Linked DNA regions of Homo sapiens: regions 1, 3 and 4 are each linked to region 2. The links are contacts of gene promoters, found by promoter capture Hi-C in blood cells and fetal thymus (Javierre and others, 2016). All regions are on one chromosome and are shown on one strand. Each heading gives the region's core, a stretch centred on a gene start or on the middle of the fragment in contact. The rest is flanking DNA. Distances are from core to core; before and after follow the strand shown. Region 1 overlaps MYO18B (myosin XVIIIB). Region 2 holds the start of CRYBB3 (crystallin beta B3). Region 3 holds the start of MYO18B (myosin XVIIIB). Region 4 overlaps MYO18B (myosin XVIIIB).

What was found. Contacts are between HindIII fragments. The CHiCAGO score rates a contact against its expected background, and 5 or more counts as called.
Region 1: a fragment that was not itself captured here is called in contact with the fragment with the promoter of CRYBB3 in region 2 in 2 of 17 cell types (M0 macrophages and M1 macrophages); the score reaches 7.8 in M0 macrophages.
Region 3: a contact is called between the fragment with the promoter of MYO18B here and the fragment with the promoter of CRYBB3 in region 2, in 2 of 17 cell types (M0 macrophages and erythroblasts). The highest score is 9.3, in M0 macrophages.
Region 4: a fragment that was not itself captured here is called in contact with the fragment with the promoter of CRYBB3 in region 2 in 2 of 17 cell types (M0 macrophages and M1 macrophages); the score reaches 12.2 in M0 macrophages.

The regions. Positions count from the first base shown.
Region 1 is chr22:25,784,844-25,790,866 of GRCh38, forward strand. MYO18B (myosin XVIIIB) reads left to right here. Exons shown (of 44, transcript NM_032608.7): 11 at 585-648. Among named protein-coding and RNA genes, the nearest start is that of MYO18B, 46 kb to the left of the region's middle. The HindIII fragment of the contact is 7,595 bases long and covers 1-6,023 here.
Region 2 is chr22:25,197,521-25,203,294 of GRCh38, forward strand. CRYBB3 (crystallin beta B3) reads left to right here and starts at 2,338. Exons shown (of 6, transcript NM_004076.5): 1 at 2,338-2,389; 2 at 3,857-3,951; 3 at 5,154-5,272. The coding sequence starts at 3,877. The HindIII fragment of the contact is 15,596 bases long and covers 1-5,774 here.
Region 3 is chr22:25,738,117-25,743,578 of GRCh38, forward strand. MYO18B (myosin XVIIIB) reads left to right here and starts at 4,072. Exons shown (of 44, transcript NM_032608.7): 1 at 4,072-4,177. The HindIII fragment of the contact is 14,245 bases long and covers 1-5,462 here.
Region 4 is chr22:25,767,900-25,773,801 of GRCh38, forward strand. MYO18B (myosin XVIIIB) reads left to right here. Exons shown (of 44, transcript NM_032608.7): 4 at 216-1,529; 5 at 2,211-2,277; 6 at 2,973-3,085; 7 at 4,435-4,611. Among named protein-coding and RNA genes, the nearest start is that of MYO18B, 29 kb to the left of the region's middle. The HindIII fragment of the contact is 952 bases long and covers 2,863-3,814 here.

The sequences.
Region 1 (6,023 bases), core at 1,662-4,161, 590 kb after region 2:
TTGTGTTGCTTCATAAAGTGCAGACTGAGGCCGGGAGAGGTGCACGTGGCAGGATAGCGCGGAGTCTGGGCTCGAGGGGCCAACAGACCTCAGCTCAGCTTCTGGTTGCATGCTTGCTAGCTGTGAAGTCTTGGGGCAGGTACCCACTCTCAGTGCCTCTGTTTTGTCAACTGTAAAATGGAAATAATATTTGTACCCATGGAGTGGGGCTGTCATGAGTCATCTTAGGACTTAGCATGCAGTAAGGGCTCGTTCATGTTGACTGTTTTAATATTATCCTTGAGTGAGGTCGCTCAGCTGATTAGAAGATCTGGGGTTAGTCCCTGCTCTCCTGATTTTCCTCTACAACCCTTTCTCCTGGGATTTCCTGGCCTTTAGGAAGGGCCAAGTGAGGGCTGTGCGTGAGGAATATTTGGGAGATTGAAGATATCCCAGGGCAGAGTTAGTGGGGCCAAGGCCAGGGACAGGGACAGCCCCTGGGGTGTCCGGGCAGTTGTGTGGAGCCTCACACTGTGACGACCACCTGCCCTGCCAGGGCTGGTGTGGACAGCCCCCCTGACTCCTGGTTCCTTCTGTGCTTCCAGGACGGAGCTGAACCTGCACCAGATGGCAGATAGCAGCTCCTTTGGCATGGGCGTGTGGTCCAAGGTAAGGAGGAGGTCCCTCACGGGTGGGATGTGAGTCTGTGTCTGGGGCTAGATGGGAGGGTGATGAGTCGCCGTGCAACTTGTCTCTTTTGGTACTGGGGTTCATAGTTGGCAAGGGTTGGTCATGTGGAAGAGTTGGCACTGCCTTTGTAGGGTCTCGGCTTATTGGGTAAAGAAGACTCAGACAAATAAAGGAAACCAGACATAGTATACGTAGAGGTAGGATTAGGGCCCTGGAATCAGTCTAGTTCAAGCCCCAGCTCTGACACTTGTTACGTAGGTGAACCTCAGGCATGGACCTTAACCTCCTGGTAGGTCTGTCTCTTCTTCAGTACAGTAATGATAGTAGCAGTATCTGCCTCATAGGGTTGTTGTGAGGGTGAAATGACATGATGTGTATAACGTGCTTAGAACAGGGCTTGGCCTAAATCAATCAATAGGGTGCTCTTTGTCAGTACTAGTGGTGGTTAACTTGGGTAGGGGCACTCAGCGATGGTTTCCTGATGAATATAGTCTATGAGTGGGGCTGAGAGTTAGGTATTTCATTGCTTAAAAAAGCAAATGGTTCACTGGTTTGATATTTTATTATTCAATTATTTTAACCATTGTTTTCTCCCTTCTCTCGCAAATACCTTCATCACCACCTATGCTGGGCCTGTGTTGTGTTAGGTGTATGTTCCTGCTGAGTGCTAGGAGTATGATCCTCATCCATGGATTTTCACTTTAGCAGGAGACACAGACTTGGAAATTAATGCAATCATGTGAGATAAGAATATGTCAGAGGTTGCATGAAATGCTGCGGGCACCACAAGATAGCTGATAGAGCTACTTGGACTTTGCCAGGGAAGACTTCTTAGCCAAGGGAACATTTGGCCTGGGTTTTGAAGGATGAATAGGAGTTCACCAGATGGAGGGAAGTAGATAATTTCCACTCCAAAGCCTCTTTTCAAATATACATGTCTGGGAAACAAATAGTGCTGGAATAATTGGATATCCTGGTGCAAAAAAAAAAAAAATCCATATTTCACATGATATACTAAAATTAACAAAAAATGAGTCACAGATCTAATTGCAAAACTTCAAACCACAAAATTTCTAGAAGAAAGGTGAGAAAAATCTCTGTAACCCTGAGCTGGGCAAAGATTTCTTAAATGAGACATCAAAATCCCAGTCCATAAGAGAACAAATTAACTTTATCAAAAGGAACAGCATCTGCTCTCTTAAAGTCACTATTAGTATGAAGAAGCAAGCCACCGACTGGGAGAAAATATTTGCAAATCACTTATCTGATAAAGGATTTTTATCTAGAATATAAAAGTAATTCTCAAAACTCAACCCAACAAAAAAGATGGGCAAAATATGGAACATACAAAAAAAATGTAAATGGATGGCAACTAAGCACATGAAAATATGCTCAACATCATTGGTCATTAAAGAAATTCAGCCAGTGCGGTGGCTCACGCCTGTAATCCCAGCACTTTGGGAGGCCGAGGTGGGCAGATCACCTGAGGTGAGGAGTTTGAGACCAGCCTGGCCAACATGGTGAAACCCCATCTCTACTAAAAATACTAAAAATTAGCTGAGCGTGGTGGCACATGCCTGTAGTTCCAGCTGCTTGGGAGGCTGAGTCAGGAGAATTGCTTGAATCCAGGAGGTGGAGGTTGCAATGAGCAGAGATTGTGCCACTGCACTCCAGCGTGGGAGACAGAGCGAGACTCTGTCTCAGAAAAAAAAAGAAAAAAGAAAAAAAAATTGCTAAGCCTGTGTGCGTGCAGGCGCGCGCACACACACACACACACACACACACACACACACACACAGTCTGTCTTACACAGTGCTGAGTATTATCTGCAGAGTTTCTAATTCAGTAGCTCTGGGTGAGGCCTGAGAATGTGCCTTTCTCACAAGTTCACAGCAATGCTGATGCTGCTGGTCCAGGGACCCCGCTTTGAGAACCACTGTTGTAGAGTCTGTTTCTGCACTGGGTGAGGTGATGTGTCTGCCCCGTCTTTGAACTCTGGGGGCTAATCTACTTGTCACCTTATAAGTATGTCCCAAATATTGTATGGGCAAGCCTGGAGAGTTGGGGGCATATCAGAGAGGCTGCTTGGAAGAGGTGACCAAGAGCTGGCCATGAGAATGAGAATGAAATTTCTTTCATTCTCAAAACTCATGCATGAAACAAGCTGGAATGAGAATGAAATGAACAGATGCAACGAGGCTGGCATTCTTGCTAAACCAAATACTAGGGGGGCAGCTTCTTTACTTGGGGGACTCAGCAGTGTGTTCTTTTTTCATACCCTTTACCCCGTGATCTGGGGTCATGAGGAGCCCAGACCTCCACCTTGAAGGCAAGAGATGAGAAATTACCTCAGCACTGATTTTTCTCATTCATTTAATGAGCTTTGGCCCAAAATATCCGTATGAATCAGCAGAAGAGTAGTTGTTTATTTTCCTACTGTTTTTGAGAAGGAAAAGGACCCAAGCTGGGGTCCTCTGAGCTTTCCCCCAACCTGACCTGTTTGTTAACAGTCTGCATAAAGCCATTGGTCACAGCGTGAATTTGTGTCAAAGAAGCATTTGAAGTGGTTTGCTTTTTTTCCTCTTTATTTCTGTGGGGCATTTTTTAGACCAATTGATTTGCAGGAACTGGTAGGGTGTTTCTTTGTTCTCTCTCTGCTACCTGGCAGGTATCAAGAGAATGTTTTCTCTGTTCTTTCAGAAGAAAAATAAAGTCTGAAAATTCATTGGTCTTTGATACAAGCCTGGGCTAGTTACTGGGGTCGGGCAGGCCAGGTACAGCTTCATTAAGGGAATCTGGTGATCAGGATATGTCCCCCAATAATGGGAGTTGCTAAGTCCCCAAGGCTGTCAGGCTTAGCAAATCATACAGGATGCCCAGTTAAATGTGAATTTCAGATAAACATTGAATAATGTTTTAGTATAAGCATGTCCCAAATATTGCACAGGGAAGCCTGAAGGGTTGGGAGCCTATCAGGGCAGGCTGCCTGGAGGAGTGGACCACAAGCTGGTCCTGGAGTGAGAGTGAAAGTAGTCAGATGCAGTGAGGCCAGCATTCTTGCTGTACCAAATATTGTGGGGGACATATTTATGAAAAAAATTATCCATTGTTTATCTGAAATTCAGATTTGACTGGATGGCTTGCATTTTCTTTGGCAACTCTACAACCCAACTTCAACCCAACTTCATCCCTGGCTGAGCCCTCCTCCTTCCTTCTCCTCCTAGCCAGCCCCCGTACTATGATTAATTCTGCTTCTGTTTCATCTGTAACAGCTGGTTCCATCTCCACTGAAAACTCACTGGCGACAGTGGAGTCTGACGTAGTGATGTTCGAATCCCAGTACCAGCGGTTAAGCTGGGTGGCCTTAAGCAAGTGACCTCATCTCCTTGGGCCTCGATTTTTTCCTTTTCGAAAACTAGGAGAGCAAGAGTCCACCTTGACCTCAAATGAAATGAGATAAAGCCAATGAAGTACTTCGGCAGTGCCTGACACTTCCAATGTCAGCCCTTCTTCTTCTTCTTTCTTCCTTCTTTCTTTTTCTTCTCTTTCTCCTCCTCCTCCTCCTTCTTCTTCCTCCTCCTTCTTCTTCCTCCTCCTCCTCCTCCTCCTCCTCTTCCTCCTCCTCCTCCTCCTCCATCATCAAGGATGGCAGCATTGGGCAAGTTGGGAGGGCTTAGCCTGCTCCCCAACAGCAAGACACGCTACCTAGCCACTCAGTTCCCATTCCATGTTCCTTGGCAGCACGTCTTGTTTTCCCTCTTACTGAATTTATCTCTATTCTCTTCTAATTCATATTTTTAATGAAGCATCTGTTTAAAAAAAAAACAAAAAACTAAATTATGGCTGGGCTCAGTGGCTCACACCTGTAATCCCAGCACGTTGGGAGGCTGAGGCGGGCGGATCACCTGAGGTCAGGAGTTCGAGACCAGCCTGGCCAACATGGTGAAACCCCATCTCTACTAAAAATACAAAAATTAGCCAGGTGTGGTGGCACGTGCCTGTAATCCCATCTACTTGGGAGGCTGAGGCAGGAGAATCACTGGGACCTGGGAGGCAGAGGCTGCAGTGAGCTGAGATCACACCACTGCACCCCAGCCTAAGTGACAGAGCGAGACTGTCTCAAGAAAAAAAAAATAACGAAATTACTACATACTTCCTATGGAGAAATCAGAAAAAACACAAGGGCAAAACCAAAAACCAGAATACACACACACACTCGAGCAAACCAGAAAACAAGCGCCATTCACCTCACCACCCTGAGAAACCCACTGGTCCTATACCTGCAGGTGTTCTTCCAGTATTTTTCCTGCAAATATTTTACATAATTCATAACAAACTGTATATCATTAAAACTTTCTGGCCGGGCATGGTGGCTCATGCCTGTAATCCCAGCACTTTGGGAGGCCAAGGCAGGCGGATCACCTGAGGTCAGGAGTTTGAGACCAGGCAGACCATTATGGTGAAACCCTGTCTCTACTAAAAATACAAAAATTAGCCGGACGTGGTGGCGGGTGCCTGTAATCTCAGCTACTCAGGAGGCTGAGGCAGGAGAATCGCCTGAATCCAGGAGGCGGAGGTTGCAGTGAGCCGAGATTGCGCCACTGCACTCCAGCCTGGGCGACAGCGTGAGACTCCGTCTCAAAAAAAAACAACAAACTTTCACAAATATTATTTTTAATGACCAGACATTCATGGAGGGGACGTGGTTCACCGAACTGCTGTTTCCCTAATGTCCATTTACATGGTTTTATTTATTTTTATTTTTTAATTATACTTTAAGTTTTAGGGTACATGTGCACAACGCGCAGGTTAGTTACATACATTTACATGGTTTTAAACCTTTTTGTGGTTCTTAGTGATAAGGTGGGCGTCTGGCTTGTATTACCATCTCCGACTCCCAAACCTCCGTCTAAGGAGATGTCTCCAGTTATCGTCTTTCCTGTTGTCTCCTTGCTAACAGTCTCCCATCTCTGATCACACTGTTTGTTTATGATTTGTCTCCCCTCGGCCCTAAGTTCCATGAGGGTGGGAGTCTTACTTGTCTTGATCACTCCTGAATAGACAAGGCCTAGCACTCAGCCAGGCATACAGCAAGTGCTCAGTAAAGGTATGTTGAGTAAATAAATGAACGAGCATGCCCAACTCACCACCACTTAACTAAAATCACATCTTTTCAATTTTCGAATCGTTTGCTACTGTGGTCAGCAGAGATCGGTTAATTAAACTTTATTTTCTCCCCAGTATCATTTCACTAGGTCTTTGGGGATCTCATGTCTGCCTTTGGACCCACTCCTTGGGTCCTGGGAGCTGGGGCAGTTGCTGGGAATCTCTGAGGACCCAGAGAAGGGGATTAG
Region 2 (5,774 bases), core at 1,088-3,587:
TCTGTCCTGTGCTGAGCTGTGGGCCAGCCAGCGAGAGGGCAGAGCTGGGGTCCTGGGAGAGGGTGTCCATGCAGAATGGGAGGCCATGGAAACAAGGCAGGATTTCCATTCAGACTGACAAGGGGTTGAGTCCTCCTCCTGCCACCCTCTGGCTGTGGGATTTCTTTTAAACATTGGTTCTCCTTAGCTATACAATGGGAGTGGTGATCAGGACATTTTTGCAGGTAACAGTTTAAGGTGGTGGTTCTCAGCTGGGTGGATTGTGCCCTCCAGAGCATGTCTGGTAATGAAAGGAGGCATTATTGGTTATCACAAGAAGGAGAGAAGATGCTCCAGGAAGTGAGTAGAGGCCAGGGATGCTGCTCAGCATCCTGCAGTGCACAGGACAGCTCCCACCCCGACCCCACCACAAAGAATGACCCGACCCCAAATGGCAGTAGTGTCAAGGTTGAAAAGTCTAGATTGGGGAGATGTGGTACATCAAAGTGCTGAGCGTGCAGTAGGTCTGCAAGGTCCTCAAAGATGTGATGGGAGGGGGAGCCACGCCATCCCCACCTCTGCCTTCCTCCTTCTGTCCCAGCTGGTGGCAACTACATCCCAACTCAGGGGGTCCAAACCGACTGCTTTCTGTGACCTTCAGCAGGAAGTAGCCCCTTGGCTTGAACTGTCCAGAGTAGGCAGGATGCTGGGAATAAAAGTCAAAAATAACAGATACTGTGCGCAGTGCTTTGCTTGCATGACCTCCCAAAATGGCCCAAGTGGAGAGAAGGTTCTCCATTTATGGTGAGGAGACAGTAGCTCTGAGACCTTCAGGAACTCGTCCAAGGTCACACACATCTGCCTGACTCAGAGTCCAGCTGTCATCCACAGCATCTCACCACCATCTCCCTCTAGGGGGTACAGGGTAACTGTGTTTTTGTTTGTTTGTTTGTTTTTTGAGACGGAGTCTTGCTCTGTTGCCCAGGCTGGAGTGCAGTGGTGCGATCTCAGCTCACTGCAAGCTCTGCCTCCTGGGTTCACACCATTCTCCTGCCTCAGCCTCCCATGTAGCTGGGACTACAGGCACCCGCCACCACACCTGGCTAATTTTTTGTGTTTTTAGTAGAGACAGGGTTTCACCGTGTTAGCCAGGATGGTCTCGAGCTCCTGACTTCGTGATCCGCCTGCCTCGGCCTCCCAGAGTGTTGGGATTACAGGCGTGAGCCACCGCGCCCGGCCTGTAACTGGGTTTTATGCTGACTTGAGGATTTTAGCCAAAAACAAATACCAACAACAACAAAAGAAAACCTTGTTAACTCACTCCTTTGCTCCAATATAATTTTATTCATAAAATAATCACTTATTAGATATTGATTACAGGCAAAATTATACTTTGTTAGACACTTAAAAAATTCCTGGAAGCTGGGTGCAGTGGCACGTGCCTGTAGTTCCGGTTATTCAGGACACTGAGGAGAAAGGATTGCTTGAGCCCAGGAGTTTGAGTCCAGCCTGGGCAATGTAGCAACAACCTATCTCTAAAAAATAAAATAAAAATACCTGGATCTACCTTTTTTCTTTGGTCATAAATAAGTTGACTGTGATGGTCACTTTTATTTCTATTGAGGCTAAGATCCCAGGTCCTGGAGCAGGCCAGCCCCTTCTCTCTGCTGTGTGATTCTGAGTAAATGGGTTCACCTCTCTGAACTCAGTTTCTCCATGTATAAAGTGGAATCAGAATTCCTCCCCTAAGGATGGCTGGATGAGAATTCCATACAATGCTTGTGAAGCTGGCACAATGCCTTGCGTGTAGTAGGTGTTCAAGAAATGGTAGCTATTATTCGTGCGTGTCTTCTACATGAAGAAAGTCAGTCTGTGAGTTCTGTGACGGCATCCTATGGAAACGGTTGGGTGGATTTGCGCCCAAGTTGGAGAGTATGGTTAGCGTGATCTGACTTAAAACTTAGGCCACATGGCACATGGAAACTGGAGAGTGTCTGGGGTCCCTCACTTTAAGAACTAGAATTTTTCCAAAGGTTGCGTGTGACTCAATAGGAAATGGTGACCCCAAGAAACCAAAGAAAGGGAGTTGGTGGTTGTGGGGAGACACGGGAGAGCTGCACACCGTGCCCCTTGCCTGGCGCTGCTGGGCTTCCCACAAAGCCAGTGAGGTTCATCTGTCCCCAGGAAGTCATCAGAGACGGTGGCTGAGGAGACAGGCACTGGGGGCCTCCGTGGACCCGCTATTGGAGTGAAGTGGCCTGGATGGAATTGGGTGGACAGGGTGCTGCCTCAGCAGGCTGGGATGTGCTGGGCTGTCAGAAAGTGCTCATAAATAGCATGCCCCTTGCGAAGACAGGCGAGTCTGCAGACGGCCGTGGCTCCTCTGTTCTTCCCGAGGCTACAGCAACAGGTTCATTCTGGGATGGGTTGGGGGTGGGGAGGCAAAAGCCACCCTGGCAGGCCCGGACCTTTTGTAGTTTCTGTGGGACGCGCATGGCTGACCGCCTGCAAAGAAAAACAGCGCCTCCCTTAAGGGTCAGGTCCCAGTGAGAGGACCCTGACAGCCCAGCTGGGGGTGGAACGAGGGACCCTTGTCTGCAGTGGCCAGGGTCCAAGCCCCTGGACATGTGCTTAGGGCAGGGGACCTTCCAAAACAGCTCCTCTGAGGGAGGGGAGTGGGCACACATGGTACCTGCCAAGTCCCCCGAGAGTCCCCTGTGAGCTGGACCAAGCCCTGTTTCCTGCTGAGGCTAGGAGAGACAGAACCGACAGCCCGCAGGCTGTGCATGGTTAGGCCCACATCCAGAGTATGTGGGCTGTGCAGCTGTGCATGCTGGGGTGGCCGTGCTGGGAGCCGTGGGTGGGTAACAGTTGGATGTGGGGTGTAGATGTAGGTGCCTTGTTTACCACTGTGGATGTCTGAAATGGGCAGGGATGTGTGTGTGTGAGGAGAGAGAGAGAGAGAGAGAAAGAAGCTGTCCTGTGAGCCCATGGGTGAAATATAACTGATAGTGACCATAGAAACTTTTGCGAGTGTGTGCACCTATGTGTGTGTGCTGACAAACAGAACAGTCCTGTGTGTGTCCATGGGTGCAACAATGATGAGAATCCTTCCATGTGACTGCGGCAGGGGCCTGTATTGCGTGTCACTGTCCCTGTAGCAATGAAGAACTGTCGGTGTCTGGGTCTTGAAGTGGCTGGTACACAGTCGTGTTCAATAAATGCTTAAGGAATGAGTAACCGAACGCAGGGAAACTGACCTGGAGCAGGTGTCCAACGACCTGGTCTTACAAGCCTTTTCTCTAGAGGTCTGTCTGTCCACCTCCCGACATATGGGGTCTCCTGTCCCTCCTGGTCACCCAGCCCAGAGCCTGGCACTGTGTAGGTGCTCATGGAATATTTGTTGAATAAAGTAACCAGTGAACAAAAGAGTTCCTGGAGTACGGAGGTGGGAGAGACCCCTGTAGAGGAAACTCCCTGAAGCCCACCCTTTAGCCAGGTTCTGGGGGTGGGACATCTGCAGAGAGCTCTGAGAAACCTGGGTTTCGGGGAGCATCTGGATCAGGGGAAAAGGGCACGGGCTTTGGAGCCAGGCCCGACCCAGGCCACTTCCTCACTGTGTGCTTGAGGAAGTGGCCTCACTTTGCTGAGCCTCAGAGTTCCCCTCTGTACAATGGGGCTCCTGATCCCACTGTCTCAGTCCACGTGGCCCATGGCAGGTGCTCAATGGATGTTTGCTGAATGACTGAATGTCGATCATAAGTTACAGCCACGCCCCATGGGCAGCAAGGCTCTGTAGCTCATCCTGGACTCCAGTCACATCAACACCTGGCTTCTCCCGGGTGGATCCAGTGAACCATTTTCTTTTGGTTTGAAGCCAGAGGTGTTCCTGGGGAGATGGCGGAACAGCACGGAGCACCCGAACAGGCTGCAGCTGGCAAGAGCCATGGAGACCTTGGGGGCAGCTACAAGGTACTGGGCAGGGAGGGGGTCAGAGGGCCCAGGCTACTCCTGGGCCTCAGGGTCATCTTCCCAGCCAAGCAGCACCTCTGCAGGAAGGAAGAGCCATCCTTCCAACCACCCAGGCCAGGACAAAACGCTCCGGGTGGGTCCTCTCACTGCCACCCTCCCGTTAGAAACTTGCTTCATGACTTTGCTGCATCTTCCCTCGTCTGCAAAACAGAAATGGTCACCCACATCCTGCCTGCACCAATGGATCAGAGAGGCCCGGGGGTTTCTGGAAACGGCTCTGAGCTCTGACTCTCCTGTCTGACCTCAGCCTGGTGTCTTGCCCACTCTGGGGAAAAGGGCACAGGGTTTGGAGGCTCTCTGGGCCTCAACAGCCCCATGTTTGAAATGAGGATGGTGCCCAGATATTGTGCCCAGAGTTGGTGTAAAGGCTGAAAGACATGAGTGAAGCCAGCTAGCAGAGGGAGGCACACTAGAAATCTGAGAGAAGGTTTGAATGTGTTGGCTCTGCCCTTTCCAAACCATCTCCGGGGTCTTTTTGGGAAACTATTCCAGACAGAGTCTAAGGATGGGTCGAATCCCAGTGCCTCCTCTTAACTTGCTGTGCAGCCCGAGGCAAGTATCTTACCCTTTCTGAGCTTCTTTGATCCCTTCTGTAAAATGACTAGAACAGATGTTCCCTGGGGATCTTCTACAAAGTCAGTTTGTGTTTCCAGGTGGGTGAGAGAGGCAAAACCTTGGTCTGCCTTTGCAGCCCTTCTCTTCCTAGGCTTGGGGCAGGCAGAGGTCTTCCCCGAGACTGCAAACAGGTGTTTTCATTTTTTTAAGGGGGAAATTTCCTATTAAGGAAAATACAGATTTCTGACCTCTCTTGAAAAAATTGGAACTGGGACCTCATTCCCTCATCGCCAGAAGCAGCTTCATTTCCCCACCGACCTCTCGGGTTATTTCAGTCCGCTGGACTCCCCACCTGGCTCCTGCTGGACATCAGAGTTGCAATCACTAGTTTAATTGGTCTCATTGAAGTTCCTGAAGGCGTTTCCCTCCATGACCATTAGAGGGCAGTGCAGGCCCACCTCAGTGCCAGCTCCAGGCTGGAGAGATGCAGAAAGCAGAGGGTACCTCCCTCTAATGCCCAAAGGAGGGGCAGAGGCTGGAGCTGGGAGCCTAGCAGAGGTGGGATGTTTAGGACTCTGCTCTTCTAGGTGATCTTGTACGAACTAGAGAACTTCCAAGGCAAACGCTGCGAGCTCTCGGCCGAGTGCCCCAGCCTGACCGACAGCCTGCTGGAGAAGGTGGGCTCCATCCAAGTGGAGTCCGGGCCGTGAGTACCTAGACCCCCAGTCCCTCGCCACAGCCCTGAGCCTTCTGGGAGTGTGGAGGCCCCAGTCTGAGCTCTAGATCTGTTGTGGGGCTTTTGACAGCTCCCCTGCCTTCTCTGGCCTCGTTTTCCGCATCTGTAAAATGAGAGTTGAAGAATTCTCTAGAATCCTAGATGTCTGCAGAAAATCCCAGGATACCTGAGGTTGGAAGAACAGCAAGGTCAACCTAGCACCTAACTCAGTGACTGGAACATGGGATTTAATATTTATAATTTTAATAATAATTGTAACACCTAAAATTTAACATGCATTATGTCATTGAATCGTCATGACCCTGTGACAGAGGTATCATTCTTATTCCCACTTTATAGATGGGGAAACTGAGGCCAAAGTTGGTAAGTGTCCCATCCATGTCCACAAGGCAGGCAGGTCTCCCAGCTGGGCCCTGAATTCCCGCCTTTGGATTGCAAGTCCAGGCTCTGGCACTAACCATCTGGGTGATCT
Region 3 (5,462 bases), core at 2,822-5,321, 540 kb after region 2:
ATTGCTACAGGGATGGTGGCACACAAGTGAGGCCCCTGCAGTGGTCACAGGGATGGATTTTCATGATTGTTGTACATACGAACACGCATAGGCCTGTTCTCCAGTTTATTAACACACACATCCATGCACATCCATGCACATATACTCACAAACTTCCATGCTCACTGTACAGTCATATCCTACCCATGGGCACACAGGACAGCTTCTCTCTCTCTCTCTCTCTGTCTATGCCTGTCTCTGTCTCTGCTCTGTCTCTCTCTCTTACACACACACACACACAGTAGTTCCCCCTTATATGAAGGGAATACCTTCCAAGCCTCCCAGTGGATGTCTGAAACTGTGGATAGTACTGAACCTCCCTATACACTATGTTTTATCCTATATATTCATACCTATGATAAAGTTTTATTTATAAATTAGGCACAGTAAGAGATTAATAAAAATAATAATAAAGTCAACAATTATAACAATATACCTGTACTATAATAAAAGTTACATGAATGTGCTGTCTCTCTCTAACACCTTAATGTACTATACTCACCGATTGTTGGATGGTGGTTGACTGCAGGTAACTGGAACCTTGTAAAGTGAAACCACGAACGAAGGGGGACTTGTATACCCACACGGCTCCCCGATAGCAATGGAGATGACAGGACCCCGGAATGATAGAGATCAGGTGGCAGCACTCATCCTAGTGAGTGGCAAGGTGGAAGCAGCTCACAAGACGTATGGAGACGATTAACAGAATGTAGCATTCTAAGGGCAGAATAGATGGGCCACCAAAAAGGGTCCACTCCATTTGTACCATTAAAAACATTAAGGATGGGCTGGGTGTGGTGGCTCATGCCTGTAATCCCAATGCTTTGGGATGCTGAGGTGAGAGGATCACTTGAGGCCAGGAGTTCAAGACCAGCCTGGGCAACATAGCCAGACCCCATCTCTACCAAAAATTTAGAAAAATTAGCTGGGTGGTGTGGTGTATGTCTGCAGTCCCAGCTACTTGAGAGGCCAAGGTGGAAGGATCACTTGAGGTAAGGAGTTTGAGGCTTCAGTGAACCGTGATCAGGCCACTGTATTCCAGCCTGGGTGACAGAGTGAGACCCAGACTCTAAGAACATTTAAAGAAAAAAATTAGGGGCCGGGTGCAGTGGCTCACGCCTGTAATCCCAGCACTTTGGGAGGCTGAGGTGGGCAGATCACCTGAGGTCAGGAGTTTGAGACCAGCCTGGCTAACGTGGTGAAACCCTGTCTCTACTAAAAATACAAAAATTAGCCAGGCATGGTGGCAGGTGCCTGTAATCCCAGCTACTGAGGAGGCTGAGGCAGGAGAATCGCTTGAACCTGGGAGGCAGAGGTTGCAGTGAGCAGAGATTGTGCCATTGCACTCCAGCCTGGAGGACTAGAGCAAGACTTCATCTCAAAAAAAAAAATTAGGGATGATCAAGAGATAGAAGTCAATTGTCCATATAAAATGTCACAATCCCTTGGCTGTTTTGTGGATCCAGAACTCCTTAGCCTAAGGAGAGGCCAAATCTCCAGGGGAAAGGAACAACAACCCCACAGCAGGTATGTAAAGTGATGATTCCCTTGGTCTTTGCCCAGACAAACCCACAGCCACTTGAACTGTCCTGACACCCAACAGAATAGCACCACGATCCACTCTTTCCATGACACCACGCCAACTGGATCAGATGAGCCCAAAGCAGCCGGTTCTCTGGATGCCTTGATAAGAAAGCCTCCACCTTCTCGTCTTTTCCCCCAGCCTGGGGAATGAAGCCTGGAGACTGGACAGTAAATGCTCAGCTGGGTGACAAAATCTTGCTTATAAGGGCTGCCCTAAATCACCGTGTGCTCAAGGTAATACTTGGTCATCTTGTGTAGCAAAAATCCACCCACCACAGGTACCAACAAGGTGAATGGAGCAAACACATGCCATGTTGACTCCTTGGGGAACGGAGGTCCCTTCAAGTCAACGGAACCATCACTGCAGGTCATGGCCTATAGAGAGTCCCAGCCCTGGGCCCAGAGAATCATTTCTGCATGTCAACTCTACCACTTCAGACCAACAGCGTCGGAAAGACAGCAAGGACAGAAAAGCCCAGGAGCCAATGGTTCAGGACTTGTGATGCAAGGGGCGGGAGAAGGGAGGTTCTTGTTTCAATGTCAAATGATCTAGCACAACCTGGAGAAAACAGCTCACCGGGACCTGTCTCCAAACTCTTCCCCTGGTGTGGCCTAAATGTCCCATGCCACTCTCCACTGGGGGCCGCAGGGACCCCTCCTCAACCTCATGTATATTATGTATATTGTATTTTCTTTTTCTTTCTTTTCTTTTCTTTTTTTTTTCAAAATGTAGTTTTGCTCTTGTCGCCCAGGCTGGAGTGCAATGGCGCCATCTCTGCTCACTGCAACCTCTGACTCCTGGGTTCCAGCTATTCTCCTGCCTCAGCCTCCCGAGTTGCTGGGATTACAGGTGCCCGCCACCACGCCCAGCTAATTTTCGTATTTTTAGTAGAGGTGGGGTTTCACCATGTTGGCTAGGCTGGTCTCAAACTCCTGACCTCAAATGATCCACCCGCCTTAGCCTCCCAAAGTGCTGGGATTACAGGTGTGAGCCACCATACCCGGCCTAGACTGCCATTTTCTAAGCAGCCTTCCCTTAGTGTTTCAATGAACTTCTGATTGAATGCTAATTTTCAAGACCTCGGCAGAAGTGAGTACTTTGGGAAAATATTGCTCGATGAGCTCTGGGGAAAGAGGAGCAGCACCACATAGCAATTATTGAAACAATTCTCACAGGAGCAGTATCATGCTGGGCTGATTGCGGTCTTTGGAACCAGAAAGACTTGGATTTGAGTCATGACTCTACCCTTTGCTAGCTGCATGGACCTGCATGGTTTATCCAATTTATTGAAGTCTGTACTTTGCTCCTTTTAGGCAGTGGACAAAGCACTTTTTTTGTTGTTGTTTTTTTGAGATAGAGTCTCTTATCGCCTAGGCTAGAGTGCAGTGGCGTGACCTTAGCTCATTGCAACCTCCGCCTCCTGGGTTCAAGCAATTCTCCTGCCTCAGCCTCCCAAGTAGCTGGGATCACAGACAACCACTACCCCACCCAGCTGATTTTTTTTTTTTTTTTTGAGATGGAGTCTCTCTCTGTCACCCAGGCTGGAGTGCAGTGGCGCGATCTCGGCTTACTGCAAGCTCCGCCTGTAGCTGGGACTACAGGCGCCCACCACCACGCCCGGCTAATTTTGTTTTTGTATTTTTAGTAGAGACGGGGTTTCACTGTGTTAGCCAGGATGGTCTCAATCTCCTGACCTCGTGATATGCCCACCTCGGCTTCCCAAAGTGCCGGGATTACAGACGTGAGCCACCGTGCCAGGCCCAAAGCACTTTTTTATAGCCCCTAGTTTGCTGTTGTGTCTGTTTCCTCTACGGCCCGCACAGCCTGGGTTTGAATTCTGGCTCTCCATGGCCTTGGGCAAGTTGGTTAACTTTTTGTGTCTCAATTTCCCCACTTGTAAAGTGGGGCTGGGGAAAAACCCTACCTCATAGGGAACATTAAGTGAGTTCATGAAAGCCCTCGGTGTGTGGCATGCGATAACCACTACCTAAGCATAAGGTATGTTTACATGCACTGGTTGTTTACCACGACGCACCAGCATTCATTCAAGTTATTTTCTTCCAGAGTCTGCCTGGAATGTAGAACCGGCCAGCTCTCCTCCTCAAACAGTTCCTGCAACCTCTGGTTATCTGTGTGGGCAGAGGCGGGAGTGTGGGTGTGTGGCCCTGCCCTGGGACAGGGATGACGAGAGAGCATGTGCTTGTGTCCAGAGCTGTCCCCTTCCCTGCTCAGGGGCCACCAAATATGTCCATGGTCTCTGCTGCCTGGTCAACGGCCACCCCGGGCTGCCGTCTCCTGGCCAGACCTGGAGCTCACAAGCTAATTTTAGAAATGACTGGTCGACTCAGCTGCTGCTATCACATTGGCCCAGAAGGAGGGTGGGGGGAGGACGGGTCGGGGAGGGGCAGTAAGGGGAAGGGATGTGTGTCGGTGTGTGTGGAGAGGGTGCTCCTTCGCTCCTGCTTTCCCGGCTCGGTGGGGTCCCTTCGCGGCCACCCGGGGAGACGTCTTAGACAGTCGTGGTTCCTGTGATCTGTGTCCTCTTTGCAGAAGGTACTATTGGGCTGGGTTTTAGACGGGCACCTTGCGAGCGGATCGGCGAGTTTTAATTTTCCGGAATGCGCTGCTGGGGGCTGCGGTGGCAGGCCTCCGGTCTTTTGGTCTATTTTAGGCCTTTCTGGTGTTGAGAGCTTCCGAGGCCTGATTCCTTTGCCTGTTGCCCGTGCTGCTCACTTTGAAAACAAGAGTGTTTCGGTGGAAGGATTTGAGAACAAAATGCTGGGGCAAATGGACATTCGTAAGAATCACTCTCCTCAGGCCCCAGCTGTTCGCTAATAATTTTTAAAAATGTGTTTAGAATCATGAGTTAATCTCCACTGTGAATCTTTGCCCGCAGACGTCAGGGTTTATATTTTTCCTCAACTACCAGTAATTTCTGCTTCACTGGTGTTCAGTTATGGTCGGGGAAGAGCCAGGCTTCCCCTTTCGTGTTAACAACGCTGTTGAGTCGAAATGTTAATTTTAATGTTCTTTTTTAAACTGCAAATTAAGCATGTATGAGTGTTGGGGGAAGGGCAATGGAAGTTCATGGCTGAAGGTTTCAATTTCATGCCACCTTCCTTGAGCTCTGTCTGAGGGAAGGTGTCTTATCTGGCACCCCGGATAGCAGGCATTTCTCTGAATGAAGAAGATTCACAGGTCCCAGTGGCCCCATAGTGGGGCAGAAGGGGGCTATGCTTTGACATGGAGCTCTCTCCCAGGAGAGGAGAAGACCTCACCAGCTACAGGCCTCTGGGCTGCTGCCTTCCTGCAGCTTTTCCATGGAGGAGGCCAGGAGTGGGGAGGCCCGGAATGGGGAGCCCAGTCGGCTCCCAGTCGGCTCCAAGCTGTCCAGTCTGGCCTCAACCCGCAAGTGTGGGGATCTGGGCTTCTATCCTGTAGGGCCTGGAATACGACGAGGCTGTTACTTTCACTTTGTGGCTGTCCAAAAAGATGCTGCCTCATTCAGTGCACCAGCTCATGGAGGCTGAGTGTCCCACTAGGGCTTCTAGACTCCAACAAGGATAATGGTGGCCTTGGGTGCTGTATCCATTGCTGACCTAAGTTGTATTCTCCTATGCCTGGGTACCATGTCCAGTGTGTACCTTGGGAGCAGAAAAGAGAGGGGTCTATATACTCTTAGGCTATGGATGAGTTCTAGAAAATAATAGTGGAGAGGAGAGAGAGAAAAGAAGGAAGAGGAGGAGGAGAAGGAGAAGAAGAGAAGGAGGAGGAGGAAAAAAGCAGGAGGAGAAAGAGAAGAAGGAGGAGAAGAATAATAGCAAAGGAAAAGGCCAAA
Region 4 (5,902 bases), core at 2,089-4,588, 570 kb after region 2:
TCCACTCCTTCCACTCCATCACTCAACTTTGAGGGGCTAGGCCAAGGTCAAGGGTGCTAGGCTTGGCCATGCCTGTTGGATTTGGAGGTGCTCGAGCATCTGTGGAAGGATGAATGGAGAAGTGAACAATGAAATGAATGAACGAACACGAGTGAATGACAAAGCTGTCAGGTCAGCAAGCAGCTATGTAGGCATGGTTGTGTTCTTTCTCCCAGATCCCAGAAATTTCCATCAGCCAACCCAACAGCAAGTCCAGCAGTGGCACCAGATCTGGAAGCCAGCAGATCTCTCAGGACGACCAGTCAAGCTCTCCTGGGAGCTCAGACATTCTGGGCAAGGAGAGCGAGGGGTCCCGCAGCCCCGACCCTGAGCAGATGACAAGCATCAATGGTGAGAAGGCCCAGGAGCTGGGCTCCAGTGCGACACCAACCAAAAAGACTGTCCCCTTCAAGAGGGGCGTGAGGAGGGGTGATGTGTTGTTGATGGTGGCCAAGCTGGACCCGGACTCAGCCAAGCCAGAGAAGACTCATCCCCATGACGCCCCCCCTTGCAAGACCTCTCCCCCCGCCACAGATACTGGAAAGGAAAAGAAAGGGGAGACCTCTAGGACTCCTTGTGGCTCCCAGGCCAGCACCGAGATCTTGGCCCCGAAAGCTGAGAAGACCCGGACTGGGGGTCTTGGGGACCCAGGCCAAGGAACTGTGGCACTGAAAAAAGGCGAGGAGGGTCAAAGCATAGTGGGGAAGGGGCTTGGGACCCCCAAGACCACAGAGCTGAAAGAGGCTGAGCCCCAGGGCAAAGACAGGCAGGGGACCAGGCCCCAAGCCCAAGGGCCCGGCGAGGGGGTGCGACCAGGGAAAGCAGAGAAGGAGGGAGCAGAGCCCACAAACACGGTGGAAAAGGGGAATGTCTCTAAGGACGTAGGGAGTGAAGGGAAGCACGTAAGGCCCCAAATCCCTGGGAGAAAGTGGGGAGGTTTCCTGGGAAGAAGGAGTAAGTGGGACGGTCCCCAGAATAAGAAGGACAAAGAAGGGGTGCTCTTAAGTAAGGCAGAGAAGACAGGTGAGCCTCAGACCCAGATGGAGAAGACAAGCCAAGTGCAGGGCGAGTTGGGGGACGATCTGAGAATGGGGGAGAAAGCAGGTGAGCTTCGGAGCACGACTGGGAAGGCAGGTGAGTCCTGGGATAAGAAGGAAAAGATGGGGCAACCCCAGGGTAAGTCCGGGAACGCAGGTGAAGCTCGGAGTCAGACAGAGAAGGGCTGTGAAGCCCCAAAGGAGGTGAGCACAATGGTGGAGTCGCCAGCAGCTCCTGGGAAGGGAGGCTGGCCAGGAAGCCGTGGGCAGGAAGCAGAGGAGCCCTGCTCAAGAGCAGGTGATGGGGCTGGTGCCCTGGAGACAGAGCTGGAAGGACCCAGCCAGCCTGCTCTGGAGAAGGATGCAGAAAGGCCTCGGATACGGAAGGAGAACCAAGACGGGCCAGCCCCGCAGGAGGAGGGCAAAGGAGGCCAGAGCAGAGACTCAGACCAGGTGAGGGGGCTGCGGCCCTGGGAGCGGGAAGCGGCAGACAGGCCTCTCCAGAGATGCAGGGATGGGAAAGATCTGCCCCAGGGATGGACAAGGGGTGGACGGGGGGTGGGCAGGGAATTGGAGAGGGGTGGCTGGAACTGCAAGGCACCCAGAGGAGGGGACGAGCACTTCCTCCATGAGCAGAAGTCTTGAAGTTTCCATTGCACCTGCCCTGGGGTGGGAATTCCCCACAGAGTGAGGGAAGGTCCCCAAAGTGTGAGGTGTCTCCTCACGGCTGACATGGTAGAGCTTGCTTATGATGTCACACGACAGCTTTCAAACGGGATGGCATAACGAGTAGATTGTTAAAAATGCAGATTCCTGGGGCCAGCCATGGAGTCTCTCATTTCAAAGGCCAGGAGTGGGGCCCAGGAATCTGCATTTATGTAGTATTTTTTTTTTTTTTGAGACGGAGTCTTGCTCTGTCACCCAGGCTAGATGGTGCAGTGGTGTGATCTCGGCTCCACCTCCCGGGTCCGCAACGGGAATCTGCATTTAAATAAGCACACTCCCTCTCCTGTTCTCCCCCAGGAGATTCTGGTTTAGATGGCTCCAGAGCACACTGTGAGAAACCCCCGTGTAAGGTAGAAGATGGGCAGCGGTGCCATTTGCTGGTTTAATTTACGTGATGTTGGTTCTCAGGCTCCTGAGGACAGATGGTATGAGGCAGAGAAAGTCTGGCTGGCTCAGAAGGATGGATTTACTCTTGGTAAGTAGGGGTGTTAGCACCTTTGGAGGGTCTGAGTCTTCTCCTGTGCCCCCTACTGCTGCCAGCCATATGTTCCAGGTCCTGATTATACTTTGGTGGTCAGGAGGGAAGAGGAGCAGTGGAGACTGTCTTTCAAAGGCATTTGTGTCTTGATAATGAGTTATTTACCTACTGTAACTCACTAATGCAACAAGCATGCTTTCTTCCTACGGCGTTCTTCGAGGAAGCCAGAGTCTGGTACAAGTGGGCCAATAGATTTGATCTCATGAGCCTACTTTTGTCGATTGGTTGTGGCTGATCACTGCACTCTACTGAGAAGTGATGCTGAGTCTCAGTCTGAACATGGCTGGGAAGAGTGGTTGATTAGTGATGTCTGCCATGGGCACTGGAGGGGGAAATGGCAGTCTGTGTGTGAGATAGGCCAGTGTACCCAACTGTCTGGGTGCCTGCTCTGTGCCTGGCACTGTGACAGCTGGTAAAAGCCTAAGGTGAGTCAGACTTAGCCTGACCTTAAAGGATTTGGGGTCACAACTCAGCTCCAAGTGAATAGACCCCAAATGGAGACCTGTCCCAAGCCTTCTCCCAAGCTTGCTGGCCCGGCTTAGAGCCTCTCTTATCTCCTGCCCTCGCCTCTTTCCCCTCTTCCCCTCCCATCTCCTCCCCGTTCCCCTTCTCTCTCTGGGATGTCCAACCAGCTACGGTGCTAAAGCCAGATGAGGGAACAGCAGACCTGCCAGCAGGAAGGGTGAGACTTTGGATTGATGCTGACAAAACCATCACTGAGGTGGATGAGGAGCATGTCCATCGGGTGAGTCCCCTGTCCCGCCGTCCCCCAGCATGAGTCCCCTGTCCCACTTCACCCCAGCTCCATACCCTCCTTCCCCAGTCCTGCAAGAGATTTCCTTGTTCCTGACTACCAATACCATTTTGGCTTGATGCCCTGGAGGGAGTTATAGTGAAGAACCCCACTGAACTCATTGCTCTACTGGAGGGGTACTATTAGGGGGTCATTCACCCTTTCCTGTGGTTTCCCTTAATGAGGACACATCAAAGAACATGTTTGTCAGGTCTTGGCCCTGGGAGTTCTTCTGATGGACCCAAGAAAATGACTGCTTTTAATTTATAGATATTGGATATTGCAAATCATACTACACAGCATGTTTCTGTTTTCACTCTGGCCGCCAGGGAACTCAGAGCCAAATTTGCTGCTTGCCATTAACCATAGCATAGGTTCTAATGGCCTATATTTTGGCATCAAACTTTCTTTCAGCTTTGCTCTTTAAATTGCTTTGAATACATTTTTGTTGTGCACCATAAATCCTTTTGAGGACAAGTCCCAGTGTAGTGATAGAAAAGAAAGGTTCTGTCATGCCCTTTCCCCCCGCCCCTCACAGCCTGCTATCTTAGGAGTTTTCCTCCTTGCTCATCTGCATTCCTTTCTGCTCCTCCTCTGCCCACCTCAGGCTTTCTCTCCCGCGTTGGGCATTTACAGAGGCTCAGTGGCCTTGCAAGAAAGGCTGATCCATGAGAGGGCTCAAGCTTGGCCCAAACCTGAGACTACCAGGTTCAGAAAACTCACTGAAGCTGGAGAGAATAATAGGACGCCTCTTAGAACAGATGTTTTAAGAAGCAGCTTCACATAACCCTTGCTTCTAAGGGTTTGGGTGGTTTCCTAGGAATCAATGCATGATGGGCTATGAGACCAGTGAGGTGGTTTGGCCATTGGCCTCCACTCCTGGGTATCATGGAGCATATTGAGAGCTTCCTCGTAAGACCCAGAAGAGGAGGAAATGGCAGCGGATGCTCGCACACACTGGAGCATCACCTGTCTTTTTGTGGTGTTTGAGATCCAGAAAGTGTTTTGAATTTTGTCAAGTCTGCCTTGGGAGCGTCTCCCCTCATGGTGCATGGAGTGCAGGACCACAGCGAAGAGGGGGTGCCTCATAGGTTGCACAGAGGGCAAGGAGAAGGGATGGCCCTATTTTATTTGTAGGGCTTCATTGCTTTCCATCCAGAGTCCCTGTGCTCTGTTCTGGTCTTTGGCACATAGCTCTCAAGAGGAGGGCTTAGTGTGTGTTTGGTTGCGGGGGGGTGGGGTGGGGGCAGGGGGCCAGAAGGCCAGAAGGCCAGAGGAGACTCTGTGTGATGGTTTCACAGGCCAACCCTCCTGAGCTGGACCAGGTCGAGGACCTGGCCTCTCTCATCAGTGTCAACGAATCCAGTGTCCTGAACACGCTTCTGCAGCGCTACAAAGCTCAGCTGCTGCACACCTGCACAGGGCCTGATCTGATTGTCCTCCAGCCCCGGGGGCCCTCGGTGCCTTCTGCAGGGAAGGTGAGGTGGGACCATTGTGGGCAGGGCTGAGGGGCTGAGGGCAGGGGGGCCTGGGGGGATCCCTCTGCATCTGAGGTGACAGTAGAACCATCAGAGCCCCCAGTCGACCTGTCTGCAAGCAGCATCCTTCTCGCGGCATTGTGGCATCCTGTGGCATGGACCATGAGATTCCCCCATTCCCTGGAGGGAAAGATCAGTCACCATTAGGACAGAAACAGCAGCATTAAATATCACAAGAGTAACGAAAGAAAATACTGAATGAGTGTGAACTCTACCAGACACTGCTGTATGCACCTTCTTGTATTAACTCAGTTGAGTCTCACATATCCACCTGAAAACACAGGTACTGTGATTAGCCCATTTTACAGATGAGAAGAGCCGGCTGGGCCAGGCGCAGGCTAAACTCTCAGGTCTAGCGAGCAGAGTTGCTGGGAGAAAACCCAGGATACAGGGCTCCTGTGTGCTCTTCATCCCATGCTGAACTCTCAGGAGTCCTGAGCACCCACATCAACGGGGAAACAGAAGCTTCAGTTGTACTTTAGTTTTTTTCCTCGGAAGTGTAGAAACGGCCAATTTTTGTTGAGATGGGCAAGAGCAAAGGAAATCTCTAAGCGCCACCTTGTGGACGCACGAGGCACCTCAGCCGAGTCATTGAAGCGTGGGCCCCTTCATTCCTTCAACCCATAGTGATTGAGCTATTGATTGAGGGTCTCCTACCGGGCCACGCACAAAGAACATCAGGGAAGGTGCCAGGCGAGCAACCCTCCCCTTGTGGAGTTGCTGTTCTAGGAAGAAAAGACAGTCCATCAACAATAAAGATAAGAGTGGCCCGAGCAGATGAGTGGAGGAAGAGGTGGGAGAGGTTGGGAAAAACCAGGACAGAGCCGTGTCAGTTCTCAGGGTGATGATTCTGGCTTTCACTCTGAGTGGGATGGCAGCTACTATGGGTATTTATTTATTTATTTACTTTTGAGACGGAGTCTCTCTGTGTCGCCCAGGCTGGAGTGCAGTGGCACGATCTCGGCTCACTGCAAGCGCCGCCTCCCGGGTTCACGCCATTCTCCTGCCTCAGCCCCCCGAGTAGCTGGGACTACAGGCACCCGCCACCACGCCCAGCTAATTTTTTGTATTTTTAGTAGAGATGGGGTTTCACCGTGTTAGCCAGGATGGGCTCGATCTCCTGAGCTCGTGATCCGCCCGCCTCGGCCTCCCAAAGTGCTGGGATTACAGGCATGAGCCACTGCGCCTGGCCGATTTGTATCTATTTTTTATGAACTGGGCAGCCTCCTGA